Linked DNA regions of Homo sapiens: regions 2, 3, 4, 5, 6 and 7 are each linked to region 1. Evidence: promoter capture Hi-C in 16 types of primary human blood cells and fetal thymus (Javierre and others, 2016). All regions are on one chromosome and are shown on one strand. Each heading gives the region's core, a stretch centred on a gene start or on the middle of the fragment in contact. The rest is flanking DNA. Distances are from core to core; before and after follow the strand shown. Region 1 holds the start of NFS1 (NFS1 cysteine desulfurase). Region 2 overlaps PHF20 (PHD finger protein 20). Region 3 overlaps CEP250 (centrosomal protein 250). Region 4 overlaps CEP250 (centrosomal protein 250). Region 5 overlaps CEP250 (centrosomal protein 250). Region 6 overlaps PHF20 (PHD finger protein 20). Region 7 overlaps PHF20 (PHD finger protein 20).

Region 1 (3,121 bases), core at 259-2,758:
ATTCAGGTCCCACTCCACCCCTCAGACCTGGCCACCCTGCCTTAAGACACTCTCAACCCCTCAGGCACTGCCTAGAGGAGGCCTCAAACATTCTTTTGTTCCCACAAAACTACCCACCAAATATCAACCTAATACACTCCCACTCACAACCCATCCCAACTCGGATTGTTCTGCCTCCCCTCAGGTAGTCTACAAACACTGCCTTGTTCCGACATCTGTTTCTGCTGGTGTTTCCATTCCTGCCAGGTAATGTGATCTATAAGGGGCTGGGACAGGACAGGGCCTAGGCAAACACCCCTGGTCACACATTGGTGAAAACTTGCATTAGTCTTTTAACCCGTTTAATACTTGTCCAAGTTCACACAGTTACTAAGTGGCCGTTCTGCTCATTCCAGAGCCCATGCTTTTAACTAATACTATAGAGCCTGCGCTGAAGTGATCTGACCAAGGTCAATTGCTAGTGAGTAGTAAAGCCAATGCCAGTGGCCTCGAATTTAAGCCTCCCGACTCCTCGCTCAGTGCTTTTTCCAGCACACCTTCACGGCTCTCACTTCTCCAGGGATTCAGCCATTTCTTTGCGTGATCACGCCCATCATTTACTTCCTATAAGCAGCCTTGGGAAAAGCTTCATCCTTACCAGAGGAGTTGTAGCTTGCACATCCATATAGAGAGGTCGCAGCACTGGCCCCACCTCCGGGGCAGCGGCTGTATCTGCGGGAACCGCAGACTGAGGAGCACGGTCTCCAACTGATAAAAAATGGAACGGAGTAGCCAAGTAAGACCGAAGGCAACTATGAACGCATGGCATCCAAAGGGCAGAAGGAAAAATCTGGCTGGAGGTGAGATAAGTGTAAGGGATGCTAGGGTCGAATCTCAATGGAAAGAAAACAACACCAGATACCTGACACGCTGTAAAAGGAGGTAAGGGAGAGGGAGAGAGGGTTCCTGGAGGGGGTGTTGAGTTGATATTCAAATGGTATCGTAGGAAGGAAGGCTCTAAAGGGCAAAGACGTTTAGAAGGAACGTGGAGCCAGAGTAGGTGCAGTCCCTTCTGACCGAAGGTAACGGTCTGCACGGGAGCCCGGAGCAGCATCTGTAACTTGGCCAGGAGCGGTCTGAAGGACGCGCCTCCACGGCTCTGGGGGCCTGTCGCGCAGGGTGCGAGGGGTGGTGCGCCGGGGTCAACCGTTCGGGGACCCGCCTAAGAAAGTTTGAGGGATGTGTCATTTGAGAGAAGGGTCAGAGGGTCTGGGCAGCAGGGTGGACAGGAAGGCTCCGGAATATTCAGTTGCGTCGCCGCGCGGAGGGGACAGGTCCGCGCCTCCCGGAGAGCGGGACCCGAGCGTACCGCGCAGGCGCAGCCCCCGAGTGGGCGCCGCGGGCTTCGGCCCTGGAGCCGCTGTCACCGCCACTGCCGCCCGCCTCCAAGCGGCTCGGAGCAGCATGGTCCCGCTGGCAGAGCCCACCTTCCGAAGCCGCTGCAGTCCTGGGCCCCAGGCTCCCGGAAGTGCTGCCCGGCGCTCCGGAAGCGATTCATCGGGCCGCGAGCGCCCTCCCCGTCGTTTTCCGTGAGAGACGTAGAGCTGAGCGACCCAGCCCGCGAGCGAGGTGAGGTAGGCGCCGGGCGACGCGGGGCCGGAACGCGAAGAGGGTGGTGGAGTCGGGCTACCCACTGATTTTCCTTCCCTTACTTCCCCTGAGCCCTTGGGCCCACTTCCCAGCCTACCGCTTCCGTCCCCGCCCGACTCTTGGGCCAGCGCCTGGGCCCACACTTTCCTATCCCCCGCAGATGCCGGTGGCCGTGGGTCCCTACGGACAGTCCCAGCCAAGCTGCTTCGACCGTGTCAAAATGGGCTTCGTGATGGGTTGCGCCGTGGGCATGGCGGCCGGGGCGCTCTTCGGCACCTTTTCCTGTCTCAGGTGAGGGGCGCGGGCGGTGATCTCTGGGCAGGACAACCAGACCTTCCGGCCCTGCCCCATTCGGCCTGGAGCCTGAACACAGCCTCCTTCTTTCGACTTCCCTCTCTGTCCCCTCGCGAGCCAGACTCATTCCAAACCACCTTCAATCTGTAAAGTCAGGTTGGAAGCGTCAGTGCTTAAGAATTTGAGCTTTAGAGTCAAAATGCTTTCTGGCCCTTTTCTTACTGGTTCGGTGACTTTAGGCAAGTTGGAGACTGGGTTTCCTTAAGTGTAGAATGAAGACAGTAGCATCTAACTTATAGAGTTGTAAAAATTCGATCAGCACACTTTGCACAGCATCTGGCACATATTAAGTGCTCAGTAACTAGTTACTACTGTTGCTTTTATTTTTTTTTCCAATTGCGCATAAGGAAAGAAACTCGTTCAGCGGTTTTACTATTCTGGATACAGGATACAGAGATAAAGCAGTTAAACTTTACACTCTAAAGGTCATTTTCACATTTAGAGGCTGTTATTGCCATATCCCTAGATTGTAAATTATCATTTACAGAGCACTTACTCTATGTTAAGCACTGTGCTAAATACTGTAGTTTTCAAAATCCTGTAAATAATGTTGAGATGCCCATTTTACACTTGACACTATGTGTAAATTGTAGAGCTGACTCTTGAACCCCCACCTTACTCCAAAATCATTAACACCAAGAAACTAAAAGACAGATGTCTTTATTGGGTCTTAAACTGCAGGCAACACCAGTCAAAAAAGCTGGTTTCTCTATGTATTTTACACTGCATCTGCTGCCTCCCACAAACTGAAGGCAGTTAATACGACATCCACCAGAAAAATACCCTGGAGACCCAGATGGATCTTTTTCCTTCTCATTACCCACCCCAGGTAGTAAGATATAATATCCAGTAAGTGGAAAATCAGATGTAGGGGTTGCTAGACTAGTGTTAGCAAAAAATTGGAAAGGAGCAGTTAATACTCTTTCTGATATTTTTGTTACCAAATAGCTCCATCTTGGTTTCCTCCTCAGGATCGGAATGCGGGGTCGAGAGCTGATGGGCGGCATTGGGAAAACCATGATGCAGAGTGGCGGCACCTTTGGCACATTCATGGCCATTGGGATGGGCATCCGATGCTAACCATGGTTGCCAACTACATCTGTCCCTTCCCATCAATCCCAGCCCATGTACTAATAAA
Region 2 (3,121 bases), core at 363-2,862, 230 kb after region 1:
GGGAGGCCGAGGTAGGCGGATCATGAGGTAAGGAGTTCGAGACCAGCCTGACCAACATGGTGAAACCCTGTCTCTACTGAAATTACAAAAATTAGCTAGGCGTGCTGGTGTGCGCCTGTAATCTCAGCTACTTGGGAGGCTGAGGCGGGAGCATCGCTTGAACCCGGGAGGCGGAGGTTGTGGTGAGCTGAGATCGTGCCATTGCACTCCAGCCTGGGCAATAAGAGCGAAACTCCGTCTCAAAAAAAAAAAGAGTTCATTGAATTTTGACATTGTATGCAGCCGTGAAGCCACCACCAGAATCAATACATGGTGTGTGTATTTTGGTTTGTTTTTTGTTTTGGCATACAGTTCTGAGTGTTTTTTTTTTTTTTTGAGATGGAGTCTCACTCTGTCACCCAGGCTGGAGTGCAGTGGTGAGATCATGGCTCACTGCAGCCTCCACCTCCTGGGTTCAAGCGATTCTCCCACTTCAGCCTCCCAAGTAGTTGGGACTACAGGCGCATGCCACCATGCCTGGCTAATTTTTTGTGTTTTCTGTAGATATAGGGTTTTACCATGTTGGCCAGGCTGGTCTTGAACTCCTGACCTCAAGTGATCCACCCACCTCGGGCTCCCAAAGTGCTGGGATTACAGGCACGAGCCACTGTACCTGGCTGAGTTATTTGTTTTTAATTGCTGTAAGATATACATAATATAAAATTTACCATCTTAACCATTTTTTTTTTTTTTTTTTTTGAGACAGAGTCTCGCTCTGTCGCCCAGGCTGGAGTGCAGTGGTGTGATCTCGGCTCACTGCAACTTCTGCCTCCCAGATTCAAGTGATTCTCCTGCCTCAGCCTCCTGAGTAGCTGGGAATACAGGCGCACGCCACCACACCCGGCTAATTTTTGTATTTTTAGTAGAGACAGGGTTTCACCATGTTGGCCAGGCTGGCCTTAAACTCCTGACCTCAGGTGATCCACCCACCTCGGCCTCCGAAATTTCTGGGATTACAGGTGTGAGCCACTGCACCCGGCCCCATCTTAACCATTTTTAAGTGTACAGCTCTGCACAGTTGTCATTCATGTTGTTTTACAACCAGTCTCTAAAACCCTTGTGAAACTGAAGTTCTATACCCTTTACCAACAGCTCTCCATTTCCCTTTCCCCAAAGCCCCTGACAACCAGTATTCTACTTTCTGCCTCTCTGAATTTGACTTCTCTAGAGACCTCATGTAAGTGGAGTCATATAGTGTTTGTCTTTTTGTGACTGGCTTATTTCACTTAGCATAGTGTCCTCAAAGTTCATCCGTGTTATAGCATATGTAAGAATTTCCTCCCTTTTTAAGGCTGAGTAATAACTTGTTTTATGTGTATGCCACATTTTGTTTATCCCTTTCATGCTAAATATTCCTTTTTTTTTTTTTTAACAAGAGATGGAGTCTTGCTTTATTTCCCAGGCTGAAGTGCAGTGGCTACTCACAGGTGCGATCATCAAGCACTGCAGCCTCAAGCTCCTGGGCTCAAGCAACTCAGCTCATTCTTTTTTTTTTTTTTCTGAGACAGAGCCTCGCTCTGTCACCCAGGCTGGAGTGCAGTGGCGTGATCTTGGCTCACTGCTACCTCCACCTCCTGGGTTCAAGCGATTCTCCTGCCTTAAACTCCTGAGTTGCTAGGATTACAGGCACATGCCACCACACCTGGATAATTTTTTTTTTTTTTTGAGACCGAGTCTCGCTCTGTCACCCAGGCTGGAGTCCAGTGGCATGATCTTGGCTTACTGCAAGCTCTGCCTCCTGGGTTCACGCCATTCTCCTGCCTCAGCCTCCCGAGTAGCTGGGACTACAGGCGCCTGCCACCACGCCCGGCTAATTTTTTTGTATTTTTAGTAGATACAGTGTTTCACCGTGTTAGCCAGGATGGTCTCGATCTACTGACCTTGCGATCCACCTGCCTCAGCCTCCCAAAGTGCTGAGATTACAGGCATGAGCCACTGCGCCTGGCCTAATTTTTGTATTTTTAGTAGAGATGGGGTTTCACCATGTTGGCCAGGCTGGTCTCGAGCTCCTGGCCTCAACTGATCTGCCCATCTCGGCCTCCCAAAGTGCTGTGATAACAGGCGTGGGCCACTGTGCCCGGTCGGTCTCTTGGCTGTTATAACCTACCCTACTTTACCAAATACAGCAACAGGGCCTTGAGTGGGGTAGGCCTCTTCCATGGTTTCCATGGGTGGAGCCTGGACTAGAATCCAAATCCTGGCTCTGTCAGGTACTTTTCGAACTGTCTCTCTATGTGATACTGCATGACCTTGTGAGCTTTCTTTTGGTTTTAGTATAGTCTGTGTCAGGGACTGCTTTTATTTAAGTTGTAAACAGTGGCAGACTAGTGCGATGAGTGAGTTAAGACTTGATAGGCTGCTCCTGGATAGGATTTCCTTTGTGCTGATCAGGCCTAGAGGAGGCCTGGTGTCAGGCAGAGTGGAGTATCAGGACCCTGAGATGGTGAGATGGGAATCTGCTTCCTCTTGTGCTCTCTGGCACACAGAGGCCTGGCTTCAAGATCTGCGTGACAAAGGTGGTGGAGGAGGGAACATTGGGTCTGCGTTGGTTTGGGTAAAAGCTGAGGTGCTATAACAAGGACCCCCCACATAGAGGCTCAAACAAAACAGAAGTTTCTTTCTCATATAAATGAATGGTTCAAGGCTAGGCAGGGATCTAGGCTAGGTAGGAGACCTTTCTCCAGGATTCCATCCGTTGGGTTGGGAACTTTGTTTCCTTCTGTCTTACGGCTCCAGCATTCTCTTAGGGTTCCCCTTATCTGCATGGTCTTAGGTTCCTTTTGTCTTATTGCTCTGGCATTCTCTTGGGATACCCCCCATTTGCATGGTTGAAGCAGTTTCACCTGCATTTCAGCTCTACCCCAGTCCCCAGGAGGGGGAAAAGAGAGAAAGAAGAGGGAGGGCAAATAGTTTCATGGACAGGCCTAATGGCAGGGCAGGCTGGGCAGGTGGCCACAGGCCCTGCTTATACTTAGAAGTAGGGGTGGGGGTGGGGATAAAAGGAGGAGAGGTTGGATGCTGGGGCAATTAGCAGTTGCTGTGGCAGAATCTGTTGAGGTGAACTGAACCAAATGACGGCCCT
Region 3 (3,121 bases), core at 349-2,848, 240 kb before region 1:
CACCGTTAGGCTGGCCGCCTCTGCCTGTGGTGGCCCATTGCCCTGTTTTGGCCCAGCTCCTGGTGGGTGAGGGGGTTTGGCCATCCTGCTGCCACTGGTTCCTTCTCTCTTTTGGATCCTTTGCCTGAAATGCCTGCTACCCCTTTTCTTTGTCAGATAGACTACTTGTGTTCAAATCTCTCTCAACCATATGCCAGCTGTGTGGCCTGGCACAAGTTTTTTAACCTTTCTAAGCCCCAGTTTCCTCATCTATATATAAAGAGTTATAATAGTACGTTTGGTGAAGTGTAATGAGAAGGCATTGGAAGGTTTCAAGATTTTTGTAAAAACAAAATGACGTAATGCATGTAAAGCACTTAAAGCAACAGCCCTCCAGAAGCACTCAGCAAGTGTTAACAATGATGATGATGATTCACACAGTTCACAGGCTCCCAGGCTGGGTTCTCTTCCTTTGTTTTCTCATATTATCTTATTATTTCACATGCTACATTGTATGTATTGTAATAGTTTGTGTCTATTTCCCCTGCTAGACTAAGAACACCTTCAGCGATTCATTCAACAAATGTTTCTGAACCACTGTGCCAGGAACTAAGGATGCAGTGATAAACCAGGAGCTCTTGGTTTAGTGCAGAGTTCCAAAAGTCATGCCAGGAGACACTAGTCCTGTGAGCTTGTCTCATGGTCAGTTAAATTTGGGGAATGATGCTCATCATAGCGCCCTTCAGAGATGAGGGTCCCTTTTAGTATTTTAAAGGTTCTGAGGAGTCTTGTGTGTAGTAAAAGAACAGTCCTTTCCATTTGACTATGTGCTTTGGTCCCCAGTTCAAGAGGAGGTTGAAGTGGCATGGCAATGGTTAGAGACCCTGCTGGGCGTGAACACCCTCTGGCTACCTAGGGACCTGTGGGCCTACCACCTGGTGCCCTCATGGAGACAAGAAGCCCTGGGTTGAACAACATGAAGCCCCAGTCACTGCAGCTGGTACTGGAAGAGCAGGTGCTGGCACTACAGCAGCAGATGGCAGAGAATCAGGCAGCCTCCTGGCGGAAGCTGAAGAACTCCCAGGAGGCCCAGCAGAGACAAGCAACCCTTGTGAGGAAGCTGCAGGCCAAGGTGAGGCAGCTGCCCTTTTGGGGAGGGGAAAGAGAACAACCCCCAGAGCTAGGTGCTGAGGTGAGATAAGGGTTGCAGGAGGCAGAGTCTTGTGGTGGGAGTGGCCTACATCTAGCATGGTGAGATAAGACCCAGACCTTCTAGCTTTCATGTACAGCTTCTCTTTTGATGCTCACAACTGCTCCATGAGGTACGTATTATATCCTTTTAATTTAATTTTATTTTTGAGATAGGGTTTTGCTCTGTTGCCCAGGCTAGAGTGCAGTGGTATGATCACAGATCGCTGCAGCCTCAACCTCCTGGGCTCAGGCAGTCCTCCTGCCTCAGCCTCTGGAGTATCTGGGACCACAGGTGTACACCACCACTTTTGGCTAATATATCTCTTTAAAGATGAAATTCACAAGGGTTAAGTTAATTATCCAGGTTTCTTCAGCTAGTCTAGAGCCAAAGCCCATGATCTTGCCTCTGTGATATAAAAGGCATATAGAAAGTATTTATTTATTTATTTATTTATTTTTGAGACAGAGTCTCGCTCATATAGAAAGTATTATTTAAATGCCCAAATAAGGCCAGGCACGGTGGCCCATGCCTGTAATCCCAGAATTTTGGGAGGCCGAGGCAGGTGTATCACCTGAGGTCAGGAGTTTGAGACCAGCCTGGCCAACATGGCAAAACCCTGTCTCTACTAAAAATACAAAAATTAGCTGAGTGTGGTGGCGCATGCCTGTAATCCCAGCTACTCGGGAGGCTGAGTTAGAAGAATCACTTCAATCTGGGAAGCGGAGGTTGCAGTGAGCCAAGATTGTGCCACTGCACTCCAGCCTGGGACACAGAGCGAGACTCCATCTCAAAAAAGAAAAAAATGCCCAAATAGAAACTATAAGATGTTATGGCCTTACCTTACTGTCACCACCCATTTCCCCTGTTCATAGCAAGTTTGCCTAAGATCCTCAGGGGCCTTTGCTTTGGGCTGTTTGTGCCAGCTGTGTTCATTGCCCAGGGCCTGTTCTTTTTGCTGCAGGTGCTGCAGTACCGAAGCTGGTGCCAAGAGCTGGAGAAGCGGCTAGAAGCCACTGGAGTGAGTGAGGCTGAGCTCTCTGCACCCCCTGGGTCCTCAGTGAATATACTTGTTAGGTTTCATTTGTTGACTGAGGGAGGTTGGAGTGTACAAGTGAGGTGTTTGGTGGAAGGCTCTCTTTCTCAGCCTCTGAGAGGTTTATCACACTGATATCTTCATTGGACCTAGCTGGCCTGTCAGATTCCAACCCTTGGTTTTCAAAGGACGAAATGTAAATTAGATTGGAAGGAGTGTGGGATTAGCAGGAAGAAGTGCATGTTTCCTCCAGCAGGTGTCAGTGTTTCTTTTAGAAAGATGCAGGCCTTTGCGAGCCTACAGCATGTCTGCAGCAAAGGGATGTCTGTGCTATTAGAACTGGCTTTGAAAAACCCATTTATTTGCCTTTGTTCCAGCTGCCTCTCAGTACCTCCTCACATTTTCCTCAGAAAAGTTCTCTCAGAGGAAGGAAAGAACCAAAACTTATTGAGCACCCTCAATGCAGTCCAGGCAGCATGAGGCACTGTCATATACAGATGGTCCTCCCCAACTTAGGATGGTTGCAAGTTTTCAACTTTATGATGATGTGAAAGCTATATGCATTCAGTATGTTCCTTGGGTTATGATGGGGTTACAGCTGGATAAACCCATTGTTTGGGGTTGTTTTGCTTGCTTGTTTGGTTGGTTTTTGTTTGTTTGGTTGGTTGGTTGTTTTGAGACAGGGTCCTACTTACTCTGTCGCCCAGGCTGGAGTGGACTGGTGCAGTCATGAGTCACTGCAGCCTCAGCCTCCTGGGCTTAAGCGATCATCCCACCTCAGCCTCCCAAAAAGTAGCTGGGACTACAGATACATGCCTCAACATCTGGCTAATTTTCTTTATTTTCTGTAGACACAGGGTCTCTCTATGTTGCCCAGGCTGGTCTCAAATTCTTAGACTCAAGCAATCCTCCCACTG
Region 4 (3,121 bases), core at 378-2,877, 220 kb before region 1:
AAAGTGCAGGGTACAGCTGTGAGCCACTGTGCCTGGCCATTTTTATATCTTTTAGGGAGGGGAAATCTCCTTTCTTAACTTCTTTTAGAGGATTAAGTTGGGTGATTAAGTTGTATTCTTTTCTCACCTCTTTTTTCTCTCTGCAACTGTGGATGATATATACTTTATTTTAAAAATCCTGTTAGTGGTTACCTTTAATATTTTTAAACATATACTTAATAAAATCTCAAGGTTCAGTAGTTTTACCCTTTTCCTGAACGATACAAGGGTCTTAGAACATTTTACCTGGGCCAGGGACAGTGGCTCATGCCTGTCATCTCAGCACTTTGGGAGGCTGAGGTGGGCAGATTGCTTGAGCCCAGGAGTTTGAGACCAGCCTGGACAACACGGCGAAACCCCATTCCCTACAAAAAAAAATACAAAAATTAGCCAGGCATGGTGGTACACACTGTAGTCCCAGCTACTTGGGAGGCTGAGGTGGGAGGATCACTTGAGCCTAGGAGGTTGAGGCTGTGGTGAGCTGAGCACCACTGCACTCCAGCCTGAGTGACAGAGTGAGACCCTGTCTCAAAAGCAAAAAAGAACATTTTACTTGTTTCACTGCTCCCTAATTTATAGGCTATTTTGTTCAGTGTGTTCAGTTCTAACTAGTTTAACACCACAAATTATGATTTTTTTATTGTTTTATACAGTCAATATTTGTTCAGATACAACGAATTGATACCTTTTCTGTTCACCATACCTTCTTGCATGTCAGACTTTCTATTCAGATTTTTTTTTTTTTTTTTTGCCTGAAGTAGGATTTTCTTTGGTAAGGGTCTGTTGGTAGTTAATTGTCTGAAGATGTTTCTATTTTATTTTTATTCTTTTATTGAGGCAGGGTCTCACTCTGTCGCCTAGACTGGAGTGCAGTCATGTGATCATGGCCTACTGCAGCCTTGGCCTCCTGGGCTCAGGTGATCCTCCCACCTCAGCCTCCCAAGTAGCTGGGATTATAGGCATATGCCATCACACCCAGCTAATTTTATTTTTGGTAGAGACAGGGTTTCACCATGTTGCCCAGGCTGGTCTCAAACTCCTGGGCTCAAGCGATCCACCCGCCCTTGGCCTCCCAAAGTGTTGGGATTACAGAGGTGAGCCACCATGTCCAGCCTACTTTTATTCTTGAAAGATAGTTTCTGGCTTTGTTCAGGCTTAAAAAATAGATAGATAGATAGATAGATAGATAGATAGATAGATAGATAGATAGATAGATAGATTCACTAAGTAAAACATTCAGATATAAGTTTCTAGGATGACAATTATTTTCTCTCAACATTGTTGGTATTGAGAAGTTAGCTTTCATTTTAATCATTCCACAGTTTCTTGTGTTTATTATTATTTTTTTGTTTGTTTGTTTTTTGAGACGGAGTCTCGCTCTGTTGCCCAGGCTGGAGTGCAGTGGCGCAATCTTGGCTCACTGCAAGGTCCGCCTCTGGGTTCACGCCATTCTCCTGCCTCAGCCTCCCAAGTAGCTGAGACCACAGGCGCTCACCACCATGCCCGGCTAATTTTTTGTATTTTTAGTAAATACAAAAATTTTTTGTATTCACCGTGTTAGCCAGGATGGTCTCGATCTCCTGACCTCATGATCCACCCGCCTCGGCCTCCCAAAGTGCTGGGATTACAGGCGTGAGCCACCGTGCCCGGCTATTTATTTTTTTATATTTTTTTTTATTTTTTATTTTTTTGAGACAGAGTCTTGCTCTGTCACCCAGGCTTGAGTGCAGTGGTGCAATCTCGGCTCACTGTAACTTCCACCTCTTGAGTTCATGCAGTTCTTCTGCCTCAGCCTCTAGAGTAGCTGGGATTACAGGCACGTACCACCATGCCCAGCTAATTTTTTTGTATTTTTAGTAGAGATGGGGTTTCACCATGTTGCCCAGGCTGGTCTCAAACTCCTGGGCTCAAGTGATCCACCCACCTCGGCCTCCCAAAGGGCTGGGATTAAAGGCGTGAGACCACGCCTGGCAATTTCTTGTGTTTAGATGTGTATTTCTTTTATTTGGTTGGAATTTCTTAGACATCCTGAATTTAAGATTTCATGTTGAAATATCAATTCTGGAAAATTCTTATATATTATCTCTTCAATATTACCTCTTTCCTACTGTCCTGCTTTTATTTATTTACTCTTTAAAATAAATTTTTTTTTGGCCAATTGCAGTGGCTCATGCCTGTAATCTCAGTAATTTGGGAGGCTGAGGTGGGCGGATCACCTGAGGTCAGGAGTTCGAGACCAGCCTGACCAACATGGAGAAACCCCGTCTCTACTAAATATACAAAATTAGCCGAGTGTGGTAGCACATGTCTGTAATCCTAGCTATTAGGGAGGCTGAGGCAGGAGAATCGCTTGAACCTGGGAGGTGGAGGTTGCGATGAGCTGAGATCGCGCCATTACACTCCAGCCTGGGCAACAAGAACGAAACTCCGTCTCAAAAAAAAAAAAAAATTTTTTTTTTTAAATTTATTTTATTTTATTTTTTAGAGACAGGGTCTTGCTCTGTTACCCAGGCTGGAGTATAATGATACAATCATAGCTCACTGCAGCCTCAAACTCCTGAGCTCAAGTGAGTCCTCCTGCCGCAGCCTCCGACGAACTGCAACTACAGGCACATGCCACCATGCCCAGCTAATTTTTTAATTTTAATTTTAATTTTTTTTTTTTTTAGAGATGGGTCTTGCTATGTTATCCAGGCTGGTCTCGAACTCCTGGGCTCAAGCTGTCCTCTTGCCTCAGCCTCCCACATAAGCTGGGACTACAGGTGCACGCCACCATACCTGGCTCTTTTCCTACTTTCTTCTCTCTTTCTGTACTCTGGTTAGTTGTATGTCAGACCTTTTTACTCTATCCTTCATGTATCTTCACTGCCTCTTGCATTTTACATGTTTACTTTTCTCTTTGTATGCTGTGTTCTGGATTATTTTTTTCAGATCTCTCATCTAGTTACTGATTTTCCTTTTCAGCTGTGTCGAATCTGATGTTTATTCTATTCACCAAGTTTTAAATTTCACTTTTTAAATTTTTTATTTCTAGATATTTTATTTGGTTATTTTTTCATATCTTCTTGGTCATTTTTTTCAG
Region 5 (3,121 bases), core at 262-2,761, 200 kb before region 1:
GGGTCTTACTCCACTACCTCTCCTCTCCTCTCCTCTCTTCTCAAAGAGAAATCTAAGTGGGAAGGAAAGCAGAACTCCCTAGAATCTGAGCTGATGGAACTACATGAAACTATGGCATCCTTACAGAGTCGCCTGCGGAGAGCAGAGCTACAGCGAATGGAAGCCCAGGTAAAGTGGTACTGGTTTCAGGGAGGGGTTTGCCTCAGGAGTAGTCCCTTGGGCCCACCTTGGCCTGTGGTCCTGTGTCCCACTTCCTTCAGCAAGTCTGTCAGTTCCTCTGGCTGTCTCCATGTCCCTGGGGGCCATTATTCAGGTTCCAATGAATCCTCCTTCAATTGCTTTTTCTGAATTGAGGTTGATATTTTTGCCCCTTGTCCTGAAGGACCAGCGTCTCCCCTGGGCATAGCAGAGTCCTGGAAGGTGGTAGGGATGCCCTTTTACAGTATCAGCTTAAGTGGAATATACCACCACTTTTTTTTGCCCAAGTCCTTATCACTGCTAGTGCCACAAAATAAGAAAGAGAAGGGTCGGTGTTGGGGTGACAGTAGCAGGGAAGTGTAGTCTAAAGTGGCTTTTCATCTTGTCTTCTAGGGTGAGCGAGAGTTACTTCAGGCAGCCAAGGAGAACCTGACAGCCCAGGTGGAACACCTGCAAGCAGCTGTCGTAGAAGCCAGGGCTCAGGCAAGTGCTGCTGGCATCCTGGAAGAAGACCTGAGAACGGCTCGCTCAGCACTGAAGCTGAAAAATGAGGAAGTAGAGAGTGAGCGTGAGAGAGCCCAGGCTCTGCAAGAGCAGGGCGAACTGAAGGTGGCCCAAGGGAAGGCTCTGCAAGAGAATTTGGCCCTCCTGACCCAGACCCTAGCTGAAAGAGAAGAGGAGGTGGAGACTCTGCGGGGACAAATCCAGGAACTGGAGAAGCAACGGGAAATGCAGAAGGCTGCTTTGGAATTGCTGTCTCTGGACCTGAAGAAGAGGAACCAAGAGGTAGATCTGCAGCAAGAACAGATTCAGGAGCTAGAGAAGTGTAGGTCTGTTTTAGAGCATCTGCCCATGGCCGTCCAGGAGCGAGAGCAGAAGCTGACTGTGCAGAGGGAGCAGATCAGAGAGCTCGAGAAGGATCGGGAGACTCAGAGGAACGTCTTGGAGCATCAGCTTCTAGAACTTGAGAAGAAAGACCAAATGATTGAGTCCCAGAGAGGACAGGTTCAGGACCTGAAAAAGCAGTTGGTTACTCTGGAATGCCTGGCCCTGGAACTGGAGGAAAACCATCACAAGATGGAGTGCCAGCAAAAACTGATCAAGGAGCTGGAGGGCCAGAGGGAAACCCAGAGAGTGGCTTTGACCCACCTTACGCTGGACCTAGAAGAAAGGAGCCAGGAGCTGCAGGCACAAAGCAGCCAGATCCATGACCTGGAGAGCCACAGCACCGTTCTGGCAAGAGAGCTGCAGGAGAGGGACCAGGAGGTGAAGTCTCAGCGAGAACAGATCGAGGAGCTGCAGAGGCAGAAAGAGCATCTGACTCAGGATCTCGAGAGGAGAGACCAGGAGCTGATGCTGCAGAAGGAGAGGATTCAGGTTCTCGAGGATCAGAGGACCCGGCAGACCAAGATCCTGGAGGAGGACCTGGAACAGATCAAGCTGTCCTTGAGAGAGCGAGGCCGGGAGCTGACCACTCAGAGGCAGCTGATGCAGGAACGGGCAGAGGAAGGGAAGGGCCCAAGTAAAGCACAGCGCGGGAGCCTAGAGCACATGAAGCTGATCCTGCGTGATAAGGAGAAGGAGGTGGAATGTCAGCAGGAGCATATCCATGAACTCCAGGAGCTCAAAGACCAGCTGGAGCAGCAGCTCCAGGGCCTGCACAGGAAGGTAGGTGAGACCAGCCTCCTCCTGTCCCAGCGAGAGCAGGAAATAGTGGTCCTGCAGCAGCAACTGCAGGAAGCCAGGGAACAAGGGGAGCTGAAGGAGCAGTCACTTCAGAGTCAACTGGATGAGGCCCAGAGAGCCCTAGCCCAGAGGGACCAGGAACTGGAGGCTCTGCAGCAAGAACAGCAGCAGGCCCAGGGACAGGAGGAGAGGGTGAAGGAAAAGGCAGACGCCCTCCAGGGAGCTCTGGAGCAAGCCCATATGACACTGAAGGAGCGTCATGGAGAGCTTCAGGACCACAAGGAACAGGCACGAAGGCTGGAGGAAGAGCTGGCAGTGGAGGGACGGCGGGTCCAGGCCCTGGAGGAGGTGCTGGGAGACCTAAGGGCTGAGTCTCGGGAACAGGAGAAAGCTCTGTTGGCCCTCCAGCAGCAGTGTGCTGAGCAGGCACAGGAGCATGAGGTGGAGACCAGGGCCCTGCAGGACAGCTGGCTGCAGGCCCAGGCAGTGCTCAAGGAACGGGACCAGGAGCTGGAAGCTCTGCGGGCAGAAAGTCAGTCCTCCCGGCATCAGGAGGAGGCTGCCCGGGCCCGGGCTGAGGCTCTGCAGGAGGCCCTTGGCAAGGCTCATGCTGCCCTGCAGGGGAAAGAGCAGCATCTCCTCGAGCAGGCAGAATTGAGCCGCAGTCTGGAGGCCAGCACTGCAACCCTGCAAGCCTCCCTGGATGCCTGCCAGGCACACAGTCGGCAGCTGGAGGAGGCTCTGAGGATACAAGAAGGTGAGATCCAGGACCAGGATCTCCGATACCAGGAGGATGTGCAGCAGCTGCAGCAGGCACTTGCCCAGAGGGATGAAGAGCTGAGACATCAGCAGGAACGGGAGCAGCTGCTGGAGAAGTCTCTGGCCCAGAGGGTCCAAGAGAATATGATCCAAGAGAAGCAGAATCTGGGGCAAGAGAGAGAAGAGGAGGAGATAAGGGGCCTTCATCAGAGTGTAAGGGAGCTACAGCTGACTCTAGCCCAAAAGGAACAGGAGATTCTGGAGCTGAGGGAGACCCAGCAAAGGAACAACCTGGAAGCCTTACCCCACAGCCACAAAACCTCCCCAATGGAGGAACAATCTCTAAAACTTGATTCTTTAGAGCCCAGGCTGCAGCGGGAGCTGGAGCGGCTACAGGCAGCCCTGAGACAGACAGAAGCCAGGGAGATTGAGTGGAGGGAGAAGGCCCAGGACTTGGCACTCTCCCTAGCGCAGACCA
Region 6 (3,121 bases), core at 346-2,845, 170 kb after region 1:
AGATCACAAAAGTCTTTCATCATCTCCTGATAAACGAGAGAAGTTTAAAGAACAGAGAAAAGCAACAGTGAATGTGAAGAAAGACAAAGAAGATAAACCCTTAAAGACAGAAAAGCGACCCAAGCAGCCTGATAAAGAAGGAAAGTTAATCTGTTCTGAAAAGGGGAAAGTGTCAGAGAAAAGTCTTCCCAAGAACGAGAAGGAAGACAAGGAAAACATTTCCGAAAATGACAGAGAGTATTCTGGAGATGCCCAAGTGGATAAGAAACCTGAAAATGACATTGTGAAGAGTCCACAAGAAAACTTGAGGGAACCCAAAAGAAAACGAGGCAGACCCCCTTCCATAGCTCCTACTGGTGAGTTTTTTAAGTGGGCTCTGCAATGGGCAATGCCAGAGTATTCTTCTGTGGCCCTTTGTGGTTCTTTGTAACTTGTGTACGTCAATCGTTTATTTTTGTGACTGATTTTGAATTGTCTTATGATCTGGAAACAAGTTGTGTTCATGAAGCTGAATTTAAGTGAGGTACATATCCAAGTGAATCTAAGTTGGGAAGCATGTTCATAACTGAGTTTGCTAAAGTAGTGGTTAACTGTTGACTAGATACTTCAGCTTATATGATAAAACCTGATAAACCGAGGCCTTTTGCTTATGCTTTTTCAAATGATCTCAGTTTAAGTCAGCTTAATAGAATCTAGAATCAGGAAATAGAGTTTTAATGAGACAGACATGAAAGAAAAGTAATAGTAAAAAGGTATGGGCTTCTGAAGGAGATGGGGACAAAGGAACATTGAAACTAGAAAAGCATGGGTGCATTTTGAAATTGAGCTCCTTGGAGAGTGATTATTGATTAGAAATTTTCACAGTCTAAATAAAAAGCCGAGATGGCTAATTGGTAAGAGTCAAGGTTAGAGGGTATAGATTTAGGGAAGAATGCAGTTATTAAAAAACTTAAAATTTGGAATTCTTCTAGAATAACCAAGAATGAAACAAGCCCTGATTTCTTCCTAAGCCAAACACTCGTTCTCCAAATCAATTCAATGGCATGAAGAGGCCCCCCCGGTTCTCTGGACTGAGCCTGCCATTGATTAATATGTGCAGTGACCTTCAGACATTCTTGATTGTGCATTCTTTATGTGTTCAGTTGAAAAACTGTGAATCCCCTAGCACGTTTTAAAGCAGTATTTATCTTTTTCTCACAAGTTTAAATAGCTGCAGTGGATACATTTAAAATACAAAACATGAAGGCTGAGTGCGTTGGTGCATGTTTGTTGTCCCAGCTACTCAGGAGGCTGAGGTGGGAGGATTGCTTGAGCCCAAGAATTCCAAACCAGCCTGGACAATGTAGTGACACCCCATCTCAAAACACACACACACACACACACACACACACACACACACACACACACAAATATTTTCATCAAAACTGTGGAACTACAGAGCAAACCTTTTCATTATTCCCTAACGATGTAGAGAATGCAAAGCCAGTCTTCCTTATCAAATCAGACTATCAGACTTAATTTCTGTGGAAAAAAATTTAACTTACTTCACATAAGTGTATTAGTACTCATTGTAAGATAGGAAATTATATAATAGGTTGATTTGTCTCTATATGAAATAAGGGATCTTTCCCTGTAGTGCTTGTAACTGGGTTTTGCCCTCAAGAGCTGAGGGTGCTGCAATTGTCTGTAGGCCTAAATAGGGCCTAGACCTCTGCTGTCTAGTATGGTAGCCACTAGCTGCATGGGGCTATTGACTACTTGAAATGTAGCTAGTCTGAATTGAGATATGCTGTAAGTGTAAGTAAATGCTAGATTTCAAATACTTAGTTCAAAAAAAGAATGTAACACACCTCGATTTTAAAATACTGATTACGGCTGGGCCTGTAATCTCAGTGGTTTGGGAGGTCCAGGCGGGTGGATTACTTGAGGTTAGGAGTTTGAGACCAGCCTGGCCAACATGGTGAAACCCCGTCTCTACTGAAAAAATATAAAGACAAATTAGCCAGGCTTGGTGGTGGGTGCCTGTAATCCCAGCTACTCAGGAGGCTGAGGCAAGAGAATTGCTTGAAACCCAGGAGGCGGAGGTTGCAGTGAGCTGAGATCGGGCCACTGCATTCCAGCTTGGGCGACAAAACAAAAAAAAATTGATTCCATGTTGAAATGTTTTTAGAGGCTGGGTGCAGTGCCTCATCCCTGTAATCATGCCAGCACTTTGGGAGGCTGATGAGGGAGGATCACTTGAGTCCAGAAGTTCGAGACCAGCCTTGGCAACATAGTGAGACCTCATCTCTACAAAAAATGAAAAAATTGGCTGAGAGTGGTGGCACGTGCTTGTAGTCCCAGCGATTCCAGAGTCTGAGGCAGGAAGGTTGCTGAGCCCAGTTTAAAAAAAAAATTTTTTTTAAAGTACTGGATTAAATAAAATAGTATTTAAATTAACTTTTTAAGTTGTGTTTTTTTTTTTTTTTTTTTTTTTTTGACAGGGTCTCACTCTGTTACCTAGGCTGGAGTGCAGTGGCGTGATTGTGGCTCACTCCATTCTCCACCTCCTAGGCTCAAGCGATGCTCCTATCTCAGCCTCCTGAGTAGCTGGGACTACAGGCACATGCCACCATGCCCAGCTAATTTATTTCTTGTAGAGACAGGGTTTCACTATGTTGCCCAGGTTTGTCTCAATCTCTGGGCCTCAAGCAAGCAATCCTGCCTTGGCCTCTGAAAGTGCTGAGATTACAGGCATGAGCCACCATGCCTGGCACTTAAAAACCAAACCCTCTTATGTGATGAGTAAAAAATTCAAAATTGGCCAGGCGTGGTGGCTCAGGAATTTGAGACCAGGCTGGCCAACATGGTGAAATCCCGTCTCCACTAAAAATACAAAAATTGGCCGGGCATGGTGGTTCATGCCTGTAATCCCAGCATTCTGGGAGACCAACATGGGTGGGTCACCTGAGGTCAGGAGTTCGAGACCAGCCTGGCCAACATGGTGAAACCCCCATCTCTACTAACAACACAAAAATTAGATGAGCGTGGTGGCATGCACCTGTAATCCCACCTACTTGGGAGGCTGAGGCAGGAGAATCTCTTGAACCCAGGAGGCAGAGGTTACAGTGAGCCGATATCG
Region 7 (3,121 bases), core at 285-2,784, 140 kb after region 1:
TTGCAGTGAGCCGAGATCACGCCACTGTACTTCGGCCTGGGTGACAGAGTGAGACCCTGTCTCAATCAATCAATCAATCAATCAAAATAAAACGAAACAATAGCTTAGCATATACAGTGTTCTGAATCATATAACTGTATATCTTAGAAGAGCTTTCCATATCTTGACAGATAAAATCATCTTGTTCTTTTTAATAACCGCGTAGTATAAGGCTGGGCACGGTGGCTCATGCCTGTAATGCTAGCACTTTGGGAGGCTGAGGTGGGCGGATCATGAGGTCAAGAGATCGAGACCATCCTGGCCAACATGGTGAAATCCCGTTTCTACTAAAAATACAAAAATTAGCTGGGTGTGGTGGCACGTACCTGTAGTCCCAGATACTCAGGAAGCTGAGGCAGGAGAATCACTTGAATCAGGGAGGTGGAGGTTGCAGAGAGCTGAGATCGCGCCACTGCCCTCCAGCATAGCGACAGAGCGAGACCCTGTCTCAAAAAAACAAACAAACAACAACCAAAAAAACTGCACAGTATTCCATTATATTGCTTATAAATGCTTAAAATTGAGACTGTCTGATACAGTCTGGGTTGCATGGTCATTCTGATTTATTGGCACATGTAAAATCTAATCTAGTTGTTAAATCCTTAATGTTTTCTTCCTGCCTCTTGTGTGCTCAAGTCTTCTGTGTATGTCATCTTGTTTAATCCACACTACAACCCAGTGTGCTTCTTCCACTTTACATGAGGGAACTCAGGCTCTGAAAGTTTAATTTAATGGTTCATAAACTGGCCGGGCACAGTGGTTCACCCTTGTAATCTCAGCACTCTGGGAGGTTGAGGCGGGCAGATCACCTAAGGTCGGGAGTTCGAGACCAGCCTGGCCAACATGGCGAAACCCCATCTCTACTAAAAATACAAAAATTAGCTGGGCATGGTGGCGGGCGCTGTAATCCCCGCTACTCGGGAGGCTGAGGCAGGGAGAATTGCTTGAACCCAGGAGGTTGCGGTGAGCCAAGATCACACCACTGCACTCCAGCCTGGGTGACAGAGCGAGACTCTGTCTCAAAAATAAAATAAAATAAAATAGTTCATAAACTAAGGAATATGCAGGTTAGGATTTGGACCTCAAGTCTGTTACCCTCCATAATTTGTGATTTGACCCAACTACACAGAGTCTCTAAACGGTAGGCCTGGTAACCTTCTCCTTTGGGAAGAGGTTTGGAAATGTACCATTATGGATATTTGGATATTTGGGGTGGGTATTAAAGGAATGCCAATTTTTTTTTTTCTGACTCAGGTATCCAGCTCACATAGAAGACATTGACTACGAGGAAGGAAAAGTACTCATCCATTTCAAGCGTTGGAACCATCGTTATGATGAGTGGTTCTGCTGGGACAGTCCTTATTTACGCCCTTTAGAGAAAATACAGCTGAGGAAAGAGGGCTTGCATGAAGAGGATGGATCTTCTGTGAGTAACAAATCTGGGAAGTTCTGTAGTATGCAAGGTCAGCCATTGGGCTGTTTGTGTTTCAATCTTTGATGTTAGTAGCAGCTGGAGACCAGTTCTTATTTAGGCCTATAGTTGTAACCCTGAGATCTCTATGACACCTGGGGCTCTTGAAGAATCCCAATTTTGTTTGTTTGTTTTTTGAGACGGAGTCTCGCTGTGTTGCCCAGGCTGGAGTGCAGTGGTGCAGTCTCTGCTCACTGCAGTCTCCACCTCTCGGGTTCAAGCGATTCTCGTGCCTCAGCCTCCCTAGTAGCTGGGATTACAGGTGCCCACCCTGGCTAATTTTTGTATTTTTAGTAGAGATGGGGTTTTGCCATCTTGGCCAGGCTGGTCTCAAACTCCTGACCAATTTTACGGCATTGTATCCCTAACTTCTAGAACACTGCCTGGCACATTGTAGATCTTCTGATCTTTTGTTAAGCTGTCTGGTCTTTTGTTAAGTGATCATTCTGGCCAGGCGTGGTGGCTCACACCTGTAATCCCAGCACTTTGGGAGGCGGAGACAGGCAAATCACAAGATCGGGAGTTTGAGACCAGCCTGGCCAACATGGTGAAACCCCACCTCTACTAAAAATACAAAAAATTAGCTGGATATAGTGGCGGGCGCCTGTAATACCAGCTACTCGGGAGGCTGAGGCAGGAGAATCGCTTGAACCCAGGAGGCGGAGGTTGCAGTGAGCCAAGATGATCATGCCACTCCACTCCAGCCCGGGTGACAGAGTGATATTCCATCTCAAAAAAAAAAAAAAAAAAAAAAGTGATCATTCCATGTAGAACGTTGTACTAAGTCTCATATGCAAGGTCTTCTTCTTTTGAGACAGGGTCTTGCTCTGTTGCCCAGACGGGAATGCAGTGGTGCAATCATGGCTCACTGCAGCCTCAATCTCCCAGGCTCAAGCGATCTTTCCACTTCAACTTCCCAAGTAGCTGGGACCACGGGCCCACCACACCCGGCTAATTTTTAAATTTTTTTATAGAGACAGTGTCTCGTATTGTTGCCCAGGCTGGTCTTGAACTCCGGGCTCAAGTGATCCTCCCGCCTTGGTCTCCCACAGTGCTAGGATTATAGGTGTAAGCTCGTCCTGCAGAGTCTTTTATAAGCCCTTAAAGAACTTGGAATTGATTGGACTGTATTCCATTTTTCTAAATTTTATCTCTATGCCTGGAGCTTTTACTGACTTCAAAATGCAGTATGAAGTATTAGTTTTAAGGTTTTTTTGTTTTGTTTTGTTTTAAGCAGTGAAAGCACAGATTTATTGAAATGAAAGTACACTCCACAGAGTGGGAGCGGGCTCAAGCAAGTAGCTCAAGAGCCGTTTTTTTGGTTTGTTTTTGAGACGGGGTCTTGCTCTGTTGCTCAGGCTGGAGTGCAGTGGCTCGATCTCACCTCACTGCAACCTCCATCTCCTGGGTTCAAGCGATTCCCCTGCCTTATCCTCCTGAGTAGCTGGGACTACAGGTGCGTGCCACCACACCTGGCTAATTTTTTGTATTTTTAGTACAGATGGGGTTTCACTGTGTTAGCCATGATGGTCTCGATTTCCTGACCTCGTGATCCGCCTGCCTCGGCCTCTCAAAGTCCTGGCATTACAGGTGTGAGCCACCGCGCCCAGC

What was found. The method cuts DNA at HindIII sites, captures the fragments that hold promoters and counts their contacts. A CHiCAGO score of 5 or more calls a contact.
Region 2: a contact is called between a fragment that was not itself captured here and the fragment with the promoter of NFS1 in region 1, in 1 of 17 cell types (endothelial precursors). The highest score is 7.1, in endothelial precursors.
Region 3: a contact is called between a fragment that was not itself captured here and the fragment with the promoter of NFS1 in region 1, in 8 of 17 cell types (naive B cells, megakaryocytes, total B cells and 5 more). The highest score is 12.7, in naive B cells.
Region 4: a fragment that was not itself captured here is called in contact with the fragment with the promoter of NFS1 in region 1 in 5 of 17 cell types (megakaryocytes, total B cells, naive CD8 T cells and 2 more); the score reaches 7.8 in megakaryocytes.
Region 5: a fragment that was not itself captured here is called in contact with the fragment with the promoter of NFS1 in region 1 in 2 of 17 cell types (erythroblasts and naive B cells); the score reaches 7.4 in erythroblasts.
Region 6: a fragment that was not itself captured here is called in contact with the fragment with the promoter of NFS1 in region 1 in 1 of 17 cell types (megakaryocytes); the score reaches 5.7 in megakaryocytes.
Region 7: a contact is called between a fragment that was not itself captured here and the fragment with the promoter of NFS1 in region 1, in 5 of 17 cell types (total CD8 T cells, naive CD8 T cells, total B cells and 2 more). The highest score is 6.3, in total CD8 T cells.

What each region holds. Positions count from the first base shown.
Region 1 is chr20:35,697,844-35,700,964 of GRCh38, forward strand. It overlaps NFS1 (NFS1 cysteine desulfurase), which reads right to left and starts at 1,509. Exons shown (of 13, transcript NM_021100.5): 1 at 1,349-1,509; 2 at 638-747. The coding sequence starts at 1,445. It overlaps ROMO1 (reactive oxygen species modulator 1), which reads left to right and starts at 1,562. Exons shown (of 3, transcript NM_080748.3): 1 at 1,562-1,613; 2 at 1,790-1,920; 3 at 2,955-3,121. The coding sequence starts at 1,790. The coding sequence ends at 3,063. RefSeq lists enhancers at 1,076-1,735, 1,736-2,395, 1,967-2,186 and a silencer at 1,287-1,476. The HindIII fragment of the contact is 3,611 bases long and covers 624-3,121 here.
Region 2 is chr20:35,931,711-35,934,831 of GRCh38, forward strand. The region is part of intron 15 of PHF20 (PHD finger protein 20); the gene reads left to right. Among named protein-coding and RNA genes, the nearest start is that of SCAND1, 21 kb to the right of the region's middle. The HindIII fragment of the contact is 6,632 bases long and covers 1-3,121 here.
Region 3 is chr20:35,461,443-35,464,563 of GRCh38, forward strand. CEP250 (centrosomal protein 250) reads left to right here. Exons shown (of 35, transcript NM_007186.6): 4 at 823-1,111; 5 at 2,133-2,189. The coding sequence starts at 926. Among named protein-coding and RNA genes, the nearest start is that of CEP250, 7.4 kb to the left of the region's middle. RefSeq lists a silencer at 2,376-2,555. The HindIII fragment of the contact is 6,904 bases long and covers 1-3,121 here.
Region 4 is chr20:35,480,848-35,483,968 of GRCh38, forward strand. All of the region lies in intron 20 of CEP250 (centrosomal protein 250), which reads left to right. It overlaps CEP250-AS1 (CEP250 antisense RNA 1), which reads right to left. Exons shown (of 3, transcript NR_184017.1): 2 at 286-404. Among named protein-coding and RNA genes, the nearest start is that of CEP250-AS1, 8.6 kb to the right of the region's middle. The HindIII fragment of the contact is 7,692 bases long and covers 1-3,121 here.
Region 5 is chr20:35,501,799-35,504,919 of GRCh38, forward strand. CEP250 (centrosomal protein 250) reads left to right here. Exons shown (of 35, transcript NM_007186.6): 29 at 47-168; 30 at 592-3,121. Among named protein-coding and RNA genes, the nearest start is that of CEP250-AS1, 12 kb to the left of the region's middle. The HindIII fragment of the contact is 9,262 bases long and covers 1-3,121 here.
Region 6 is chr20:35,863,045-35,866,165 of GRCh38, forward strand. It overlaps PHF20 (PHD finger protein 20), which reads left to right. Exons shown (of 18, transcript NM_016436.5): 6 at 1-356. Among named protein-coding and RNA genes, the nearest start is that of SCAND1, 90 kb to the right of the region's middle. The HindIII fragment of the contact is 4,740 bases long and covers 1-3,121 here.
Region 7 is chr20:35,841,280-35,844,400 of GRCh38, forward strand. PHF20 (PHD finger protein 20) reads left to right here. Exons shown (of 18, transcript NM_016436.5): 3 at 1,294-1,465. Among named protein-coding and RNA genes, the nearest start is that of PHF20, 71 kb to the left of the region's middle. The HindIII fragment of the contact is 4,081 bases long and covers 1-3,121 here.